Linked DNA regions of Homo sapiens: region 2 is linked to region 1. The links are contacts of gene promoters, found by promoter capture Hi-C in human tissues and cell types (Jung and others, 2019). All regions are on one chromosome and are shown on one strand. The core of a region is centred on a gene start or on the middle of the fragment in contact, and the rest is flanking DNA. Distances in the headings are between cores, read along the strand shown.

Region 1 (5,944 bases), core at 2,149-4,648:
ACTATATGGATCCTATTATTTAAATAAAATTCAAAATTTTCTGAAATTAGAAGCCTATCTGGCCCTAACGATTTGCAATTAGTAATTGTGGATCTGAGCTCATTTTCTCCTTTGATTTTATCAAGGAGAAATTCTAAATTATGTGCTACAATCTTGGAAATATTTCTTTAGGACCTTGAAGTTTTTGTGCCTCTATCATGAAGGAAGTAGCTGAGTCCAATTTTAACAAACAAAGGAGAACTCTAGATACAAATTACACAAAGGGACTGAAAATAATTTAAAACATGATGAAATATCAAGGAGAACAATTCAGAACTAAAGAATGTGAAGAGTTTTATGTATTTTATTCTTTATCATAAGTATGTGCTGAATGAATACATGTACACACAATATATATATATACACACACATATACATATAAAATGTACACATGTAAATATTTCATCAGCCTAATGACAGACTTGGAAATCAGAATTGTAGTTGCTAAATGTGTATGTGTATGCCTCATGCCTTATTCTCGCAATAGATCACAGTAGCAGTTCAAAAAATAATGCTTAAATCCAGTGCGGTGTCTCTGATGAAAAAAAAAAAAGATGCTTATTATAGATGTAAATACCCATACACACATAATCTCTACTCATTAGACTATTGGTCATCAAATTTTTTTCCAATGTAATTATAGAAAATTAGTACTTTTCAGTATTTTATCCAATAGAGTGCTGGAGTATTAGTTCCCAATGTATGGTGCCAACTTCCTGAGAGGATAGTTTTTGGGTGGTTATTGTTTACCTGAGTAACTCAGAAGGCATCTGAGTTGTGCACAAAGCAGCCTGTGTTGGGAGTAGAGTGAGTCAGGCACAAATCCTCTGCTTTATGCTGTGCTATGACTCCCAGGAAGTTCCACTTGCCCCCCTTTTTTTTTGAGACGGATTCCCTCATTGTTGCCAGGGCTGGAGTGCAATGGCGCGATCTCGGCTCGCTGCAACCTCTGCCTTCTGGTTTAAACGATTCTCCTGCCTAAGCCTCCTGAGTAGCTGGGATTACAGGTGCCCGCCACCATGCCCAGCTAATTTTTTGTATTTTTAGTAAAGACGGGGTTTCACTATGTTGGCCAGGCTGGTCTCGAAATCCTGACCTTGTGATCCGTCTGCCTCTGACTCCCAAAGTGCGAGGATTACAGGCATGAGCCACCACACCTGGCCTCCGCCTGCCCTCTTTAAGGAGAAATTCTGGGTCATCACTGTTACAAATAGGGCAGGGCATGGGATTTGGACAATCAGCATTTACTGAGGGTCCACCGTGTGCTGAAATCTGAAGACAACACTGGGAGCTGTTACAATGTTACCAGCAGGCAGAAAAGTCTTTTTCTGCAAGAACTCACAATATAAGCAGAGAACAGGGCAACCACACATTAAAAGATTTATCTAAGGTATATTAATAAAAGAGCATTGACAGTGTTATTAATATGCATTATGAATGTCAAATTCAATAACATATTCAGATGAAAACTATCAAGGCCTGGACTTGCTGAAGGCACTCTTTTCACCTTTGCTTTTGGTATGCAGGTAGATATTGCAGAATGTGCTCTTTATAGCGGTTAACAAGATGCTGTAATGGAAAAAGGATTACAGGGCACAGCTAAGTTCCCATCTAAAGTTGGTGCCACAGCAAAGCAATCAATCAACAAAGTGAAGACACCAACCCGCAGAATGGGAAAAAAAATACTCAAACACTACCCATCTGACAAGGGGCTAACAACCAGAATATATAAGGAGCTCAAACAACTGTAGAGGAAAAAATCTAATAATATGATTTAAAAATGATCAAAATATCTGAATAGACATTTCTCAGAACAAGACATACAAATGGCAAACTGGTATGTGAGAAGTGCTCAACATCATCGATCATCAGAGAAAGGCAAATCAAAACTACAAAGAGATATGACTTCACCCCAGTTAAAATGGCTTTTATCCCAAAACAGGCAATAACAAATGCTGGTGAGGATGTGAAGAAAAGGACACCCTCATACACTGCTGGTGGGAATGTAAATTAGTACAGCCACTATGGAGAACAGTTTGGAGGTTCCTCAAAAGAGAAAAATAGGACTGCCATATGATCCAGCAATCCCACTGCTGAGCATATACCCCAAAGAATGGAAATCAGTCTATCGGAGAGGTATCTGCATGCCCATGTATATTGCAGCATGTTTCACAATATCCAAGATTAAGAAACAACCTAAATGTCCATCAACAGACAAGTGGATAAAGAAATGTGGTACAGGTACAGAATAGAATTCAGCCAAAGGAAAGAATGAAATCCTGTCATTTGCAACAATATGGATGGAACTGGAGGTCCTTATGTTAAGTGAAATAAACCAGGCACAGAAAGACAAACTTCATATGTTCCTACTTATTTGTGGGAACTAAAAATGGAAACAATTGAACTCATTGAGATGGAAAGTAAAAGAATGGTTACCAGAAGCTGGGAAGGGTAGTGGGAGAAAAGGGGGAGTGTGGGGATGGTTAATGCATACAAAAAAGAGAGAGAATGTATAAGATCTAGTATTTGATAGCACAACAGAGTGACTATAGTCAATAATAATTTAATTGTACATTTAAAAATAACTAAAAGGGTATAATTGGATTGCTTGTAACACAAAGAATAAATGCTTGAGGTGATGGAAATCCCACTTACCTTGATGTGATCATTACATATTAGATGCCTATATCAAAATATATCATGTACCCCATAAACTCTATGGGGTATATTACTATATTACTATGTAATCACAGCAATTAAAAATTAAAATAAAAATAATAATAGAGTTGGTGCCAGTAAAAAGATGGGAGAATGAATTGTAAATGAAGGATTGGTTCTGGAGCCTCAGGACGCAGAGAGACAGAGCTCCAATACTGCCTCCTGGCAGTTCTTGAAAACATTCTACCCACAATATTGTGGCCATTATTTTAGAGTATGGGAACCCTTTTGTTTCCTAACAAAAAGTCATAAGTTTTACATTTCTTTGCCATGATGTGAAAGGAACTGATGATTTCTTTCTCAGAACTCTGTGGCCCTTGTGAGTGAAACAGAGAGGACAGGCCACGCTTCAACATGAATGCAGCAGCATCCTTTGGAAACAATCTCAAGACCTAACTGAAAACCCATGTTTCTAATTTAAGTATGAGACAGTAATTACTCATACAGCCAGAGAGGATTCCAAGTCCCTGCCTATTTGCCGCACTATCTAAAAACAATCAACTCATCTTTCAAATCTGACCAAACTACAAATGGTATGAGAACTCCATCGTTTAATAAGGATGTTCATTTTGGCACTTAGCAGCTTACGCGTGGCTCACAGATGGCATCTGTCTCGTTTTGCGTAATCCAATCATCCTGCACTACTGCGTCTCACACTTAGTCTCCAGGAGTAATTGAAAAGCTCACGGTGACAATTGTGTCTTCTTCCAGATGTCATCGCTATAAGGAGTGGGGCTTTCATCACCTCCTTGACGTAGGATGTGTACATGGCTCTCCAGGTCAGAGTTGCTCCAAGCAAGGTAAAGAGAAATTACTTCTTTGCATTGCCTTTCAGTTGCTGCCTAGCACTGGTGTAAATGAATATGTTCTATAAATGGCCTCTCTGTCAGTGGGCAACTTGTTTCACTTTTGGCTGGGTACCATACAGAAAACATTCTGCTGCACGGCTTGCATCTTGTGGTAATAGGGCAATATAAAGGCACCCATGCCCAAGAAAGGATTCTAAAACATGTAAATAGTCGCTGTTTAGAAGGCACCATTTTATTCGGAGGTAAGCTCTCTGGTATTAGCACCTGCACGTCTGCTATCGTTTTCTGAAATCATGACAGTTTGTTCTCAATCTTTTTTTCTTTTTTTTTTTTGCAGGGAGTGGCTTTTATTTTTGTAACTTCTAAAGGGTGCGCAAAATTTTAAATGCAAAGTGTTGAAACATTTCAAGCTGTAGGTTTGTTAGTTTCTTTTTCCCCCGAGGCTAGTGTTAATAGTTGTGTTTTACTTCAGTGCAAAAATACCCCTTTAAAAAAAAATCAAACAATCGAAAACAAGGAAATATGCAAAGCCTCAAAGCAGCTGTGTAAATTCATACAGGCTTTAGGCCTATAATGAGCCAGACTTAAGGGAATGATAGTGGAAAATCAGATTTTTACTTAAAAATTAAATTACAATTATGAGTGAGTGCTACATTCATTTTAGTAAAATATCAGCACCGTGTGTATTTCCTCAAGCTTTTTCTTTACACTACCATCATCACCACATATGTCATCAGTGAGAAATGTTGAGCATGACAACAGCTAAGAAAAATTTTCAAGGTCAGTAAAACATTATTTCAGGAAAAATATTTTTAAAAAGCTTATTTTTAAGGGGTTATTAAACTTCGTAATTTATGTATAGATTTGGGATTGAACTAGCAATAATAACTTCTGCTGAAGAGATAAAAATTAGAAGATAAAATCCTTTCTCTTAAGTAGCTTACACAAAGAATGGGGGCTCTATATTTAGTCGGGGCTTACACAGACCAGACAGACAGACACACACACACACACACACACACACACACACACACACACACACGCATTGCAGAGAAAATATCCAGATAGTTGCTGCAGTTCCTCACTATCTTAGAATCATCTGAGCTTCAAGTGTAGAATTAGAGCCTTAGAACATTAGAAGAATAGTGAATATGTTCAAAATAGATAGGTTGTTGACTATCTGAATTCTCATGATACATCCCTATAAGTTATGAGTTAACTTTTCTTTTAAGTGCTTGTTCACTGTCAATATTATCAGCACAAGAATTACTGATATGCTTATAAATTAATAGTAATAGCAAAAGTGACCTTCATCTAGAGATAACTCGAATACTCAACAAACATTTATTGAGTGCATGCAATGTGCCAGGCATTGGGCTAATTAAATCCCCCCTATCTGTACACTTTAAATGACAGAAAAGCTGACTCAAGGGAAAGAGTCATGGCCAAAGGCCATTTAATTAATTTGCTGTCTGGGAAAATAGCACAAGAACTGGGAAGAAAGCCCAAGTATGAGGACTGCTAAACTGTTCAGAATACAATGTATTCTACTCCAGTAGACGGCATGTTTCCTAACTATGTTAAACTAATGTAAACTTTCCTCTGTAAAACAAATGTTGTAAAAATCTCAGAAGCACAACACATTCCTGCATATCCTCAGAGTTGTTCACCTGAACTGGAGAATTTCATTCATTCAGGCAATTTCAGAGGGAACTACTTACCAGTAGGACGGAGCCTTTGCTGTGATTCTACAAGTGAGAGAGTCATATCTCATGATTTCTCCAGGAATTGTCCAAAGAACTACAATGCAGTCTTTCCTATGGGGAGAAGTAAGAGAGAAAGTATTATCTATTGGGAACATACAGTACTTAATGTTAAGAATTGTATACATGTTCAGAATACAAATCCCTTATGAAACTTTACCTGTAGATGAGTAGAACAAAACTCAGAAAGTAACCAGCCAATGTCACACACTTGTCAGTGATGAACTGGGGGAGAAACTCCAGTGGATCTGACTTAGAGTCCACATACTTTATTAATAGACTATGGTTCCGGCCAGGCGTGGTGGCTCATGCCTGTAATCCCAGCACTTTAGGAGGCCAAACCGGACGATCACTTTAGGTCAGGAGTTCGATACCAGCCTGGTAAACATGGTGAAACCCCATCTCTACTAAAAATACAAAAATTAGCTGGGTGTGGTGGTGCACACCTGTAGTCCCAGCTACTCAGGGAGGCTGAGGCAAGAGAATTCCTTGAAGCCGGGAGGCAGAGGTTACAGTGAGCTGAGATTGTGTCACTGTACTCCAGCCTGGGTGACAGAGCAAGACTCTGTTTCAAAAAAAAAAAAGACTATGGTTCCTACTATAGTGGTCTTGTCT
Region 2 (5,922 bases), core at 2,391-4,890, 140 kb before region 1:
AGCCCACTTACAATCAGAGCTGTGAGCCAACCATTAAGAGTTTTGTGTGAAGAGAAACAGCCACCAATAGTTGGCTTCTGTCTGTGGCCCACTGGAATTTGGAGGATTATATCTCATAGCTGGTTTGACTTTGAGTACATAGCAATAATCAGCACAAATAGCACTTTGAAATCTATACCTTCCTAACCTCTGATAACCCTTTGATTATAAATCATCTAGGTAGCAACAGACATTTAAGCCTGTCCTTTTGAGTGTCAGGGATTTTTCCCCTTATCAAATTGGGATTTTTCTTTTCATTTTCAAGAACAGAGTTCTTTCTTTTGCTTTCTAGATGAGGCATAGGCCCCTGATGCTTAATAATTATAGTTAAACTGTACTGAGTGACTACTGTGTGCCAAGAACCATGCGAAGCATTTTATATGCATTATCTCATGTTTTTTCTTGACAACCCTATGCAGTAGCAAAGTGGCTTTCTTTTGTGTGGGCCTGTCTCAAATCCCTCTCCTTTGTTTTCCTTAAGAACATCACACTTTCCCTTTAGGAGACTTCCTTTCTCCTTCCACATGGTCTTGGGGTCTGTCCATTCTCAAGCTTCCCGACATCAAGGAATGGGCAGGTGATGAGAATGAGGCCAGTTAGAGTCTGTCAGGAAAAATCTTATCCGTGGGATAAGGAACAAGGGTGGATGTAGGCAGATTATTTCAAAGCTCACTCCTCAAAATTCCTCAGTGATACCCTCACGGTCACCCTTGTGCCTATTATCCCTAAGGCCTGATGGTTTAGCTTTTCCTTCAATTCCGTGACATGTCTAATTTTGCTTTTTTTTTCTCTATCTAACATTAGCTAGAATCAGTTTCTTATAAACTATACATCTTCCCAATAAGGCAGTATATAGTTTTCTATCACTATGCAGCAAATTACCACAAAGGTAGCTACTTAATGCACATTTATGATCTTACAGCTTCTACGGGTCCGGGCTCTGGGCATAGCTAAGCTGGGCCCTCTGCTCAGGGCCTCACAAAGTTGCAATCTAGGTGTCAGCCAGGTCTCCTCAGAGGTTTGGAGCCCTCCTGGATGGCGTGAGAAAACCCAAGGTTGTCCCTGAATAAGTGCATTTTCTAGAAGACACAAGATCAATCCCAAAGGGAGGATCATAAATGGTAAAAGAGTAAAGGAGTTCGCAGAAGAGGCTATAATAAAATCTTACCAAAATGAGAGGGTGAGAGACGAAGTCTTCTCAAAGGAAGTGAATAGGATTCTGCTTTACAGAAAAGTGAGGAGTTGCCAGGGAACACAGAAGAAGTTTCCTGATGCTCTAATTTTTAGTGTTGGGGTCCCCAACCCCCAGTATGTAGCCTGTTAGGAACCGGTGCCCAGCAGGAGGTGAGCAGCAGGCGAGTGAGCCAGCAAAGCTCATCTGCATTTACAGCCACCGCCATTGTTCATATTACTGCCTGAGATCCCCCTCCTGTCAGATCAGCAGTGGCACTGGATTCTCATAAAAGCATGGACCCTATTGTGAACTGCACATGTGAGGGTTCTAGGTTGTATGCTTCTTATGAGAATCTAATGCCTGATGATCTGTCACTGTCTCCCATCACCCCCAGATGGGACCATCTAGTTGCAGGAAAACAAGCTCAGAGCACCCCTGATTCTACATTATGGTGAGTTGTATAATTATTTCATTACATATTACAGTGTAATGATAATAGACATGAAGTGCACAGTAAATGTAATGCACTTGGACCATCCCAAAACCCTCCCCCACTGCCCTCCTGCCCCACAGTCTGTAGAAAACTGTCTTCCGCGAGACTGGTCCCTGGTACCAAAAATGTTGGGCAACTGCTGCTCTCACTTTTTCCTGCTCATTATGAGCTAACACATAAGCTTTTTTATAAATAAGAGATGGTGATAAATTACCCACACCTTCAAATTCCATTTTCTTTGGTTGGCCTAAGAAAGTTTGGAAACCAAGGAAAAGAAATACATTTTGTTCAAACTGTAAATCCCATCTCTACTAAAAATACAAAAATTAGCCAGGTATGGTGGTGTGTGCCCTGTAATACCAGCTACTTGGGAAGCGGAGGTGGGAGGATCACTTGAACCCAGGAGGTGGAGGTTGCAGTAAGCCAGGATCACACCACTGCACTCCTGTACTCCAGCCTGGGCAAAAAAGTGAGACTCTGTCAAACAAAAAAAAAAAGAAAATAGTACCTTAATAGTACCAATAGTACCATCACTGGGCTACAGCGTGTATAAACCAGTTTACTGATCACTACTTTTCTTATGTGATTAATCCTATTGCTTCTTGGAGAATTCATTATTTCTGTTAGGCCAAAGGTGCCATTGATGGCCAATAAGGCAAATAACATCAGGGTCATGGGAGAAGGTAGAGAAAACAGAGGAGAAAATAACATTGTACACTTTATCAAACCATAGTATATCTACACCAGAAATACTATGTGTACTAGTATTACTAGAAATTGTATATGAAACAATAAAACAAATATGTGAAGACAGAGGTACTTAAAGTAGTTGCTAGGAGATTTGGGATTTTTTTTTTCCTTTTTGAGACGGAGTCTCATTCTGTCACCCAGGCTGGAGTGCAATGGTGTGGTCTTGGTTCACTGCAACCTCCGCTTCCCAGGTTTAAGCAATTCTCCCACCTCAGCCTCCCAAGTAGCTGGGACTACAGGTGAGTGCCATCACACCTGGCTAATTTTTGTATTTTTAGTACAGACGGGGTTTCACTATGTTGGCCAGGCTGGTCTCTAACTCCTGACCTCGTGATTCACCCACCTCAGCCTCCCAAAGTGGGATTACAGGTGTGAGCAAACCACACCCGGCCAAGATTTGGGATTTTTAAATTAAAATTATTGAGATTCTTAGAGCCCACATGCTAGCCAAAATTGTCCTCCTATTTTTTATTAATTCAGCAAATATTTATTGAGTACCTACTATATGTCAGGCACTAAAGTAGGTTCTGAGAATAAAGCATTAAATAAGACACATAGCATCATTCTCTTTAGGATGTAAAATGTAGTGGAAATATTGTCAATAAACAGTTATAAGACATCATTATATAACCTATAGTAGATAAGTTACAGAGTCCTATGGGAACATGAAGCAAAAAAAGGTTGTTGCATATCAGGAACCAAGTGAGGTACTCCGGAGGAGATGGCACGTACGTTGATATGTGAAGATAGAATAGGAGCTATGGGATACTCTGCAATGAGCCAAAAGATTGACAAATACCAAAAAAACTTGTGAGGTTTCGCTGGGAGCAGGAAGAGGGGAATTGAGGACTATCATTTTAAAAATTGTTTGAAAATGTTAACATTCTTTTAAAAATTCATCCCTGCACACAAAGATGCTTAATGATCCCATATTTATGAGCTTACAAGCACTTCCCTGCAGCGTCTAAGCAAGAACGCAAGAATCTGTTTTGCTTTTCCTTAACAGTCTTTGCCTGGAATCCATCTCCACTGGCTCTGAAGTCTTGCCTCTGTAATGATGGTCACTGTGAACTCGGGATTTGAAAATGCTGGGACCTCCTGTTCATTAGTGCAGTTAGTGCCAGCTGCTTCAGGCCTTCCAACAAAAGTTGTCAAATTGTTTCAACCATGTACCAGACAAATACCAAAAACTTATGACTTCTCCCAAATCACACTGATATAGAATAATCAACAACACATTTTATCTATTACAATGGACTTTCCAGCTTAATTTTCATTTCAATATTTTCAAGTTTTAATCAGTTAACATTAACTTTTGATTCTAAGCATGTAAACTGCGTATGTGTATACACACTCAGCACTCAACTCTGCTGTATTCAAGTGAACACAGATTATGACACTGATGTAGCCTATTTGTATAGGGCTGTAATACATACCTTACTTTCTTAAAAAAAGTATAAGCTTATACATTGTACAACATATATCGAAATTACATATGCATTTAATCTTTGACTAGCATTTCTACTTTTGTCCTACAGATCTTACCACACATTTGACATGATATGGATACAAAGTTATTCAATGTGGCAGTGTCTGTATAAACAAAATAATTTTAACAAATCATCAGCATGACATTGGCATAAAAATTACATAAATTCTTGCAAAGAGATAAATAATTACATAATTTCTTGCAAAGAGATTTATGTAACCATAAAAAGAATAAGGAATCTCTATATGTCTTGATATGGGTCAATTCTGAAGACGTGTTGTTAAGTTAGGAAGGCAAGGTGGAGCAAGAGTAAATGCAATGTGTTTTGTATAAGAAAAGAATACATAAAGGATATGGGCCTGGTGCGGTGGCTCATGCCTGTAATCCCAGCACTTTGGGAGGCCAAGATGGGCGGATGGCTTGAGGTCAGGAGTTTGAGACGAGCCTGGCCAACATGGCAGAAACCCCATCTCTACTAAAACTACAACAATTAGCCAGGTGTGGTGGTGCACACCTGTAATCCCAGCTACTTGGGAGACTGAGGCAGGAGAATCACTTGTACCCTGGAGGTGGAGGTTGCAGTGAGCTGAGATCACACCACTGCACTCCAGCCTGGGTGACAGAGCGAGACTCTACGTAAAAAAAAAAAATTATATATATATATACACACACACACATATATACACATAAATAATATGGATGTAGCATAGATATGAAGAAAGTTAATATACGCATAGACAAATGGTTGTTGGTCTCAGGACCAGTTTACACCCTAATAGGGAATTCAAATAACTTTTGTTACGTGGGTTATATCGACCAATGTTTACCACATAAGAAGTTAAAATCCTGTAATCCTAGTACTTTGGGAAGCCAAAGCAGGGGCATCATTTGAGCCCAGGACTTTGAGACCAGCCTGGGCAACATAGGGAGACTCTGTCTCTAGAAATAATTTTTTAAAAATTAGCCAGGCATGGTGGCATGTGCCTATGGTCGCAGCTACTGAGGAGGCTGAGGTGAAAGGACTGCTTGAACCCAGGAGGTTGAGGCTGCAGTGAGCTGTGGTCATGCCACCGCACTTCAGCCTGGGCAACAGAGTGAGACCCTATCTCAAAAAAAAAAAAAAAAGACATTAAAACTGAGAAAAAATTTAAATATTTATTTCAGAATGGCAATGATAAACTTATTACATGTTAACACAAATAACATATTTTTATAAAAAATAACTGGGTTTTCCAAAATAAAAAAAAAGTTGAGTGGTATATTGTTATATTTTTGCAAATCACTTGAAGGTCTACCCTAATAGAATACATCTGGATACTTATACCTGCCTTTGCATTCAATTTATTGTGCTATGTTGTCCTGGTTGAAGTATACAAAGAAATATTCATGCAGATATGAGGCTAGGAAACGAAGAAGTATTTTTAGAGCCTTTTCAGATAATTGTGGATATTCTTTGATATTACACAAAACTTGACAACTAGTAGTTTCTCAAAGGTTATAGTATCTGATATATTATCAAATACTTATTCATACTCTGTTACATTAAAATATATTGTTCCCTTCCATTTTGAGTGGTTCTTTTACCTATGCATGATTTTTTAAAGATCTGGAAAAATACTGATCCACTGAATTATATATCTTCCAAATATTAACACATTTTATTCTACAATTTCAAAAAATTGCATATGTTTTATCACTATCAATTACGACAGAAAAGTTTTTAGGTATTGAGAGCTGTTGAGCTCAAAGTGGTAGATAAAAGCTTTCTAAAATTCTAATTTTTACTTAAAAGTTCAAATTTTATCATTTGCAATTCATATTATCATTCATTTCTTTCTTCCAAGTAACAGGCTTATTTTATTCATTTTTGAAAAAATATTTGCCAAACAGTCTCTGACTAACCGTGGTTTGCTTGTCATTCTTTCAAGTAAACATGGTGCTCCTTGAAGTAGAAAAACAGGAAACTATATGTGACTG

What was found. Contacts are between HindIII fragments. The study calls those that stand out against the background at their distance.
Region 2: a contact is called between a fragment that was not itself captured here and the fragment with the promoter of TMEM244 in region 1, in 1 of the 25 tissues and cell types used here (pancreas).

What each region holds. Positions count from the first base shown.
Region 1 is chr6:129,858,769-129,864,712 of GRCh38, reverse strand. It overlaps TMEM244 (transmembrane protein 244), which reads left to right and starts at 3,398. Exons shown (of 5, transcript NM_001010876.2): 1 at 3,398-3,557. The coding sequence starts at 3,525. It overlaps LOC105377999 (a long non-coding RNA gene), which reads right to left. Exons shown (of 8, transcript XR_942986.3): 2 at 5,288-5,383. RefSeq lists a silencer at 795-1,089. The HindIII fragment of the contact is 10,214 bases long and covers 1-5,944 here.
Region 2 is chr6:130,001,454-130,007,375 of GRCh38, reverse strand. No RefSeq gene overlaps it. Among named protein-coding and RNA genes, the nearest start is that of L3MBTL3, 14 kb to the left of the region's middle. RefSeq lists an enhancer at 5,739-5,922. The HindIII fragment of the contact is 7,212 bases long and covers 35-5,922 here.